2 separate regions of the Homo sapiens genome follow, and region 1 is linked to region 2. The links are contacts of gene promoters, found by promoter capture Hi-C in blood cells and fetal thymus (Javierre and others, 2016). All regions are on one chromosome and are shown on one strand. The core of a region is centred on a gene start or on the middle of the fragment in contact, and the rest is flanking DNA. Distances in the headings are between cores, read along the strand shown. Region 1 holds the start of HAUS5 (HAUS augmin like complex subunit 5). Region 2 holds the start of LINC01531 (long intergenic non-protein coding RNA 1531).

Region 1 (4,385 bases), core at 1,013-3,512, 210 kb after region 2:
GCACCTGGGCACAGTAACCACAGTGATTCCTGGAAGCTGGTGGGCATGCTATCCTGGGGCCATCTGAACTGGGAAAAGCTGTGTGAGTTCTTGGGGGCCAGCTTGTAGCCTTTTTGGCTGGGGCCAGGTTGAAGGTCTTCCTGGGAACCAGAGTCAAGAGCGGCCACTTACATTAAGCGGATAAAGCCCACGACTTTCTTGAGCTGCTTGACAGCTGTACCAAAAAGGCACAAACCCATTGAGGATATTATGAAACATGAATACAGATGATTATTTTATTTTGGTTTGGTTTTGTTTTGGCTTTGAGACAGGGTCACCCAGGCTGGAGTGCAGTGGTGCCATCATAGCTCACTGAAGCCTCAACCTCCCAGGCTCAACTGATCCTCCTGTTTCAACCCCCCAAGTAGATGGGACTACAAGCGTGCACCACCACGCCTGGCTAATTTTTTTTAATTTTTAATAGAGACAAGGTTTTGCTGTGGTGCCCAGGTGGGTCTCAAATTCCTAGCCTCAAACATTCCTCCCACCTCAACCGCCCGAAGTGCTGGGATTACAGGCATGAGCCACCACGCCCAGCCATTGCCTTATAATTTTTTACTGATGTCAGATATTGTTAATTTTACAGTGTTGGATGCTGGATTTTTTTTAATCTCTATAAATATTCTTGAATTTTGTTCTGGAATGCAGCTAAATAATAGCTTGATCCTTTCGGGCCTTGCTTTTAAGCATGGTTGGTTAGTCAGCATCAGAGAAGTATTTCATCTAGGGCAGGGGCAGGGGTCTCCAAACCCCAAGCCGTGAACCAATACAAGTCCATGGCCTGTTAGAAACCAGGCTGCACAGCAGGAGGTGAGTGGCGTATGGGTGAGCATCACTGCCTGAGCTCCACCTCCTGCCAGATCAGGAGCGGCATTAGATTCTTACAGGAGCGCAAACCCTATTGTGAACTGTGCATACGAAGGATCTAGATTGCGCACTCCTTATGAGAATCTAATGCTTAGGCGGGGCATGGTGGCTCACACCTGTAATGCTAGCACTTTGGGAGGCTGAGATGGGCTGATCACTTAAGGTCAGGAGTTCAAGACCAGCCTGGCCAACATGGTGAAACCCCGTCTCTACTAAAAATACAAAAATTAGCTGGGCATGGTAGCGGGCGCCTGTAATCCCAGCTACTCAGGAGGCTGAGGCAGTAGAATCGCTTGAACCCCGGAGGCAAAGATTGCGCTGAGCCGAGATCGGGCCACTGCACTCCAGCCTGGGTGAAAGAGGGAGACTTCACCTCAAAAAAAAAAACAGGGAAGAAAAAAAAAAAGAGAGAGAGAGACAGAGAATATAATGCCTCACGACCTGAAGTGGAACAGTTTCATCCCGAAACCATCCACTGCTCCCACCCTCCATCCCCCAGACTGTGGAAAAATTGTCTTCCATGAAACCAGTCCCTGATGCTCAAAAGGTTGGGGACTGCTGGTCTAGCGCAGACCTCTCACACCTGCTGTGTCCCAAATTGACCCACCCCTGCTGCTTATTTTTACCACCCCTACCTGGTGGTGCGTCTGTCTCCCCACTCAACTGTGAGCTCCGTACAATAGGGACCAGGGCTGTTGTGGTCACCATGGTGTCCCCAGCATCACCCAGCACAGGGTCAGCTCCCTGAGTTTATGGAATGGTAAGCACGAATGAATGGGAAAACGCATGCCAGGGAAATGTTAGGGTCATGCTCTCTGCCCCTACCCTCCACTCAGACATGAGACACCTGTTTCTGAAATCAAAGAGCAGTAAGTCCAGGATCTCATTGCCTGGTTCCAGTCCTCCTAGGACGCAAGTCCCATTTTGTCAAGAAAATAAAGGGGGTGAGCGTGGTGGCTCACGCCTGTAATCCCAACATTTTGGGAGGCCGAGGCGGGAGGATCGCTTGAGCCCAGGAGTTCAAGAGCCCAGAAGCTGAGACTAGCCTGGGCAACAAGTGAGATCCCATCTCTATTAAAATAAAAGTGTTTAGTTAAAAGAAGAAAAAGAAAATAAATGGAAGCATCAAGGACTGTTTTGCCTCTTTCGGGTTAGCTGGTAGTGAGCGGGAGAACGAGGGAAGGCGGGCGGGGCTGCAGTCTCTCCACGCCCTTTTCATTTCCACTCAAGGAGACCTACCTGGGAAGAGTGAGCGCTGCAAGACCCAGCCTGACCGCGCTAAGATTACTATGCAGCGCCCGAGCCCGCTGTCTGCCCGGCAACCGATGACGTCACTGTTGGCGCGCCCGTGACGTCAGAGGCGGGCGCCACACTTGAAGAGGCTGAGGGAGGCGGTGTCGCCGCCGCGGCGCTGTCATGGAGCTAGCGCAGGAAGCGCGGGAACTGGGTTGCTGGGCGGTCGAAGAGATGGGGGTGCCCGTGGCGGCCCGGGCCCCGGAATCGACGCTGCGCAGGTGAGGACCGCTCCTGGAGTGAGGACACCCCACCCTGGAGATTGAGTCTCCGGGAGTGAGAACTCCACCCCTCATTGAGGACTCGACTCCCCCCAATTCCCCATCGAGAGTGACCCGACTTACTGAGGGCTCCCTACCCTGGGAGGCTCCCCAGAGTGAGGTCCCTAGCACTGGTGAGGATCCTCCACGAGTTAGCTAAGACCTCGCTCCTTATGGAAATAGGATCTCCAGAGTGAGGCTGTCCCCGCAGCACCTCCCCTCCCTCCCTTAACCTAACCAAGAAGGACACTCAGGAGTTAGCCGTGGCCACCCCATCGGGGATTGAAGCTGTAGGAGTGATGCCCCACGTCTGGTCATGAGATGGCACTTCCTGGCAGTACATCCCCCACCTCCACCTCTGGATGTGACTGGGATAACCCACTCCCAGGAGAAAGGGAGCACCCGCCTCTCCCGCGCTCCCCCACCACCCGCCTTCCCAGGGAATGAGAATAACACCACACTTAGTGCAAACATCCAGTCCCTACAAAAAAAATGTTTTACCAATTAGCCGGGTGTAGTGGTGCCTGCCTGTAGTCCTAGCTACTCTGGAGGCTGAGGTGGGAGGATCGCATGAGCCCAGGAGGTTGAGGCTGCAAGGAGCTATGATCGTACCACTGCGACAGAGCGAGACTGTCTCTTAAAAAAAAAAAAAAAAAAAAGGCAAAAAAAAGTTTGGGCCTTCCCTCCTCAAGAAGTGAGAACTCCCTAGTAAAAACTCCCTACCACCATCACCCTAGGAATGAGGATCCCACACCCTGTGTGCTGCCCCAGGCATATGCTTACACACTGTCCCCACAGGCTGTGTCTGGGCCAGGGGGCTGACATCTGGGCCTACATCTTGCAGCATGTGCACAGTCAGAGGTAAGCTGGGCTAGAGCAGGGGAGGGGGCACAGGTGAGGCCCATAGTAACTCCTCTTTCTGCCTCTGCACTGTAGGACTGTCAAGAAGATCCGGGGAAACCTACTCTGGTAACTGCTTCTTAAAGCTATCCCCTCCTGTCTTCCCCACTCCCATTTAGCCCTGTCCCCACCACAGCATCACACCTATTGCCCTCCCCCCTAGAAGCCCCACTCATCCGCTGACTCTGGCCTCGTTTTCCTAGGTATGGCCACCAGGACAGTCCACAGGTGAGAAGCATATGCTACAAGATTCTCTTTCATCCGAAAAATGACTTGTAGATCTTCTGCTCTAAGCCCAACCAGGTGCTGGGTGATGCTGGGGACAATGGGTCACAAGACAGCCTTGATCTCCATCCTCATAGGGCTTAAAGTCCAGTGGAAACAGCATTAGCTCAGCCAGGTGCAGTGGCTCACACCTGTAATCCCAGCACTTTGGGAGGCTCACCTGAGGCCTCATCTCAGGTGATGAGATCACCTGAGGGCTCCAGGAAGCGATCAGTACTGGGACAAAGATGTGGTTTGGGAGGCGGATCACCTGAGGTCAGGAGTTCGAGACCAGCCTGGCCAACACGGTGAAGCCCTGTCTCTAATAAAAATAAAAAATTAGCCAGGCGTGGTGGCACACGCCTGTAATCCTAGCTACTTGGGAGGCTGAGGCAGGAGAATCGCTTGAACCTGGGAGGCAGAGGTTGCAGTGAGCTGAGATCGCACTACTGCACTCCAGCCTGGGCAATAGAGCGAGACTCTATCTCAAAAAAAGAAAAAATAAATAAAGAGCATTAATTAGCTGGGCGCAGAGAGGTGGGACCTGGATATGTGGCATCAAAGCTGGTGAGAAGAGATGATGGGACAGGTATGGGAGAGATGCTGAGGCCAGTGTGGGACCCAATGGGTGCAAGGGGCTCATATGACACCTAAGGGGAGGCTTCCAGGAGGCCTTGGGACTTCTAGGTGCAGGGCTCCGGGAAGAGATCAGTACTGGGACAAAGATGTGGTTGTCACCAGCACAGACAGGAAACAGGCTGG
Region 2 (4,648 bases), core at 1,035-3,534:
GAATTCAAGCAATCCTTCTGCTTTAGCCTCCCAAAGTGCTGGGATTTCCAGCATGAGCCACCACATCTGGCCCCCTTTCATCTTAAAATGCTTCCCATTCTGTTTTGGGTGCCCCATATCTGACCTTTACCCTATCTGTCATTGCGGGATGCTGACAAGGACAGTGTGGCTCAATGTGGGTTTCTGTTGTCAAGATACCACAAGGGCATGGAACCAGAAGGGGGCTGTCAGTTTCTGACTGGCTGCAGCAGCTTATCAGAACGTATCACAGATCAGGAGAGGACGATATGATCAACGGATGAGGTAACCATCAGCTGAGGGCAAACAGCTCCTAACTAAAGTCAGCACTTTACAGCTGGCTCCAGTGCACTCTCCCTGTGGCTGCAGGCAGAGCAGCCAGGGCCCCTCCTCCAGCCTCCTCCCACCTCAGAGCTTCAGAGCTTCAGACATCCTTGGTGCTGAGGCCTAGGTTCCATGAGGTCAAAGGGAGAATTCAGGCCGGGCACAGTGGCTCACGCCTGTAATTCCAACACTTTGGGAGGCCAAGGTGGGTTGATCACCTGAGCTCAGGAGTTCGAGACCAGCCTGACCAATATGGTGAAACCTCATCTCTACTAAAAATACAAAAATTAGCCAGGTGTGGTGGTGAGTGCCTGTAATCCCAGCTACTCAGGAGGCTGAGTCAGGAGAATGGCGTGAACCCAGGAGAATGGAGGTTGCAGTGAGCCGAGATCGCCTCTGCACTCCAGCCTGGGCAACAGAGTGAGACTCTGTCTCAAAAAAAAAAAAAAAAGGAGAATTCAGACTAAGCTGTTTTGCAGCATCCCAAGGCTGTGTTGACCTCACGTACAGCTGCATCATGGGAGTGGGCGGTGCGACATCTCAAGTCCAACTCAACCGAGCCATGGTTCAGGCTAAGTTCCCGCTGGTGCCCCTACCTGGAACGCTCTTCAGATAGTGGCTCCTTCTCACCCATTCAAATGTCCCAGGCCTTTCCTGACAGGCCCTGCCCATCTCTCTCTCTCTCTCTCTCAATTTCCCTGCTTGCTTTTTGTTGTTGTTGTTGTTGTTGTTTGATTTTTGGTCCTTTTTTTTTTTTTTTTTTGAGGCAGAGTCTTCCTCTGTCGCCCAGGCTGGAGTGCAGTGGCATGATCTCGGCTGACTGCAATCTCTGCCTCCCAGGTTAAGGTGATTCTCCTGCCCCAGTCTCCTGAGTAGCTGGGATTACCAGTGCCCGCCACCATACCTGGCTAATTTTTGTATTTTTAGTAGAGACAGAGTTTCACCATGTTGGCCAGGCTGGTCTCAAACTCCTGACCTCAAGTGATGTGCCCGCCTCAGCTTCCCAAAGTGCTGGGGTTACAGGCATGAACCCCACCACGCCTAGCCGATTTATTTTCTTTCCCTTTTTTTTCCCCCAGACAGGACCACTGGATTGGAGTGGTGCCATCATAGTTCATTTTAATTTCCAACTCCTAGGCTCAAGTGATCCTCCCGCCTCAGCCTCCTGAGTATCTAGGACTACAGGTGTGCACCACCATGCCTGGCTAATTTTTTATTTTTATCCTTTTTTGTAGAGACAGGGGATCTCACTATGTTGCCCAGGCTGGTCTCAAACACCCAGCCTTAAGCAATCCTCCTCCTGCCTCAGCCTCCTAAGTAGCTGGGATTATAGGTGTGAGCCACCATGCCTGACTTTTTATCTCACTTTTTGTAGAGACGGGGTATCGCTATGTTGACCAGGCTGGTTTTGAACTCCTGGCCTCAAGCAGTCCTCCTGCCTGGGCCTCCCAAAGCGTTGAGATCACAGACGTGAGCCACCTTGCCTGGCCTACTTCCTTTCTTCCTGTAAAATTGCCTTGTTGGTTTGTCTACTTGTTTTCTGTTCATCCTGTTCACTCTTGTCTCCAGCTCCTAGAACAGTACCTCACACAGAGTAACGGCTCCATGTGTTTTGTGACAGGGAAGCAGACAGTGTGGCTTGTTGGAGAGGAGCCACATACCCCCGCCCCCCGATTCATACATGGTGTGACTCAGCCCGAACCATTGCTCAGTTGAGTTGGATTTGAGATGATGCACTGCCCACTCCCGTGATACAGCTGTGTGTGAGGTCAGCACAGTCTTGGGGTGCTGCCAGACAACTTAGTTTGAATTCTCCCTTTGACTCATTGGAACCTAGACCTCAGCACCAAAGATGTCCCCATACCAGTAACCCGGGCAACAGAATGCAGATAAAGGACAGGAGACAAAAGGCGCAGGTTCTGACACATTCTTTGCTTGTGTCATCAGCTAGCAAGTATTCACAGGCACATCCAACCTCCATCCTTACATTCCACAAGGATTTGAGTGTCTGTTATAGGCAAGGGACAATGCTAGGTTTTTTTTTCTAAAAACAAACTTGGGGCTGGGCATGGTGGCTCACACTTGTAATCCTAGCACTTTGGGAGGCCAAAGCGGGTGGACTGCCTGAGCTCAAGAGTTCGACAACTCTTGGTAACATGGTGAAACCCCGTCTCTGCCAAAAATACAAAAAATTAGCCAGATGCAGTGGCGTGCACCTGTGGCCCAGCTTCTCGGGAGGCTGAGGTGTGAGGATCACTTGAGCCCGAAAGGTGAAGGCTGCAGTGGGCCGCGATTGCACCACTGAACTCTAGCCTGGGCAACAGAGTGGGACCCTGTCTCAAAACAACAACAACAAAATAAGAAAGAAAGAAAGAAAAAGCGGAAGTGAGAGATGGATGTGCGTGTAGTCGTGTGGGATAATTGCCCATGGGAAGGAAACAGAATTCAACCTCTTGGAATGTAGGGGGAGGAGGAAGCCTGAAAAAACTGTTCAAATTTGGATTCTGGGCTGAGCACAGTGGCTCACGCCTGTAATCCCAGCACTTTGGGAGGCAAGGCAGGCGGATCACTTGAGGTTCGGAGTTCGAGACTAGCCTGGCCAACATGGTGAAACCCTGTCTACAAAAAATACAAAAATTAGTCGGGCGTGGTGTTGCACACCTGTAATCCCACTACTTGGAAGGCTGGGGTAGGAGAATCACTTGAACTAGGGAGGCAGAGGTTGCAGTGAGCTGAGATCGCACCACTAAACTCCAGCCTGGGTGATAGAGCAAGACTCTGCCTCAAAAAAAAAAAAATTGGACTCTGGGTGAAATAAGTCTGTTGGGGACAAAATCTGGTGGGAGACCCAGAAGGTCAAGCTGCTTTAGAAAGAGCTCAACCACTGACTTTCCTCTTTTTGACCACATGACTCTTCCAGGTATAAAAGCCTGCCGTTGGTGGAAAAGGAAAAGGTGGTCCAGTTAGACAAGATGCCACCGGCTTCTGAAACCAGACATCTTTGAAAACCCACCCATCTACCTGCAGGAAAAGGCAAGGGACCTGACCTCGCCTGGGCTCAGGGAAGAGGTTGCTGGGATCATAACCCCAGGAAGAGACGGGATGGAAGGAGAGCATGCAGGGAGCAGAGGACAGGCTACTCTCCAAGGAGGAGAGGGAAGAGGCCACAGAAATGGAAAAGGGGCCAGGACAAGTCAGTGGAGAGATGGTCAGGGCCTGGCGAGGAGGAGCAGGACAAAAGCGGTGGAGCTCAGCCCCGTGGCGGCAGGGCCACTCCCATTCATCTGGTCCTCTACTTCTGAAGTTCTCGAATGCAGAATGAGATGTACAGATGGGCCAGCAGGTGATATGCTATCTGTCATAGGTTAAGGCCTCATTATTTTATTCATTTTTAAACTTTTTTTTTTTTGAGACAGGGTCTTGTTCTGTCGCCCAGGCTGGTTTGCAGTGGTGCCACCATGGTTCACTGTAACCTTGAAGCCCCTGGGCTCAAGTGATCCTCCTGCCTCAGCCTCCAGAGTAACGAGGACTACAGGTGCACACCGCCATGCCCAGCTAATTTCTTAACGTTTTGTAGAGAAAGGCTCTCACTGTGTTGCCCAGGCTGGTCTTGAACTCCTTGACTCAAGCAATCCTCCTGTCTTGGCTTCCCAAAGTGTTGGGATTACAGGTGTGAGCCACTGCTCCCAGCCACAAGTTTTATTTTAAATGTTTACCTTTCAATGATCACTTCGAGGAGATTTAAGCTTACTCTTTCTTTTTTTTTTTTCTTGAGATGGAGTCTTGCTGTGTCGTCCAGGCTGGAGTGCAGTGGTGCTATCTTGGCTCACTGCAACCTCTGCTTCCCAGGTTCAAGTGATTCTCCTACCTCAGCCTCCCGAGTAGCTGAGACTACAGGCATGTGCCACCACTCCCTACTAATTTTTGTATTTTTAGTAGAGTCGGGGTTTCACCATGTTAGCCAGGTTGGTCTCGAACTCCTGACCTAAAGTGATCTGCCTGCCTCAGCCTCCCAAAGTGCTGGGAGGCATGAGCCACCATGCCTGGCTCATTGTCTAGTTTTTACCAAGAAGATGATGAGATATGCCAGAGGGCTCCGTATCTGCTATGAGAACGTCCCCCAAGAGCAGCTGGCCGTGGTGCTGCAGCTGGAGCTGTGCTTGGAGCTCTTCTTCACCCCCATGGCGGTCACCACCTTCTGCCACTGGCACTTTGTGCAGATCATGCTCTCTGGCCCCAAGTGGGGACCTGGAGGTGCTGAAGAGCCAAGAGACTGGCTGCCGTGACCCTCTTCAACTTCCTGGTC

Evidence for each region. Contacts are between HindIII fragments. The CHiCAGO score rates a contact against its expected background, and 5 or more counts as called.
Region 1: a contact is called between the fragment with the promoter of HAUS5 here and the fragment with the promoter of LINC01531 in region 2, in 5 of 17 cell types (M0 macrophages, M2 macrophages, M1 macrophages and 2 more). The highest score is 10.2, in M0 macrophages.

The regions. Positions count from the first base shown.
Region 1 is chr19:35,610,473-35,614,857 of GRCh38, forward strand. It overlaps HAUS5 (HAUS augmin like complex subunit 5), which reads left to right and starts at 2,263. Exons shown (of 19, transcript NM_015302.2): 1 at 2,263-2,420; 2 at 3,258-3,320; 3 at 3,396-3,428; 4 at 3,563-3,587. The coding sequence starts at 2,323. It overlaps HAUS5-DT (HAUS5 divergent transcript), which reads right to left and starts at 2,192. Exons shown (of 2, transcript NR_186318.1): 1 at 2,146-2,192. RefSeq lists enhancers at 1,997-2,552, 2,141-2,400. The HindIII fragment of the contact is 7,658 bases long and covers 1-4,385 here.
Region 2 is chr19:35,403,323-35,407,970 of GRCh38, forward strand. It overlaps LINC01531 (long intergenic non-protein coding RNA 1531), which reads left to right and starts at 2,285. Exons shown (of 5, transcript NR_040046.1): 1 at 2,285-2,359; 2 at 3,263-4,648. The HindIII fragment of the contact is 14,783 bases long and covers 1-4,086 here.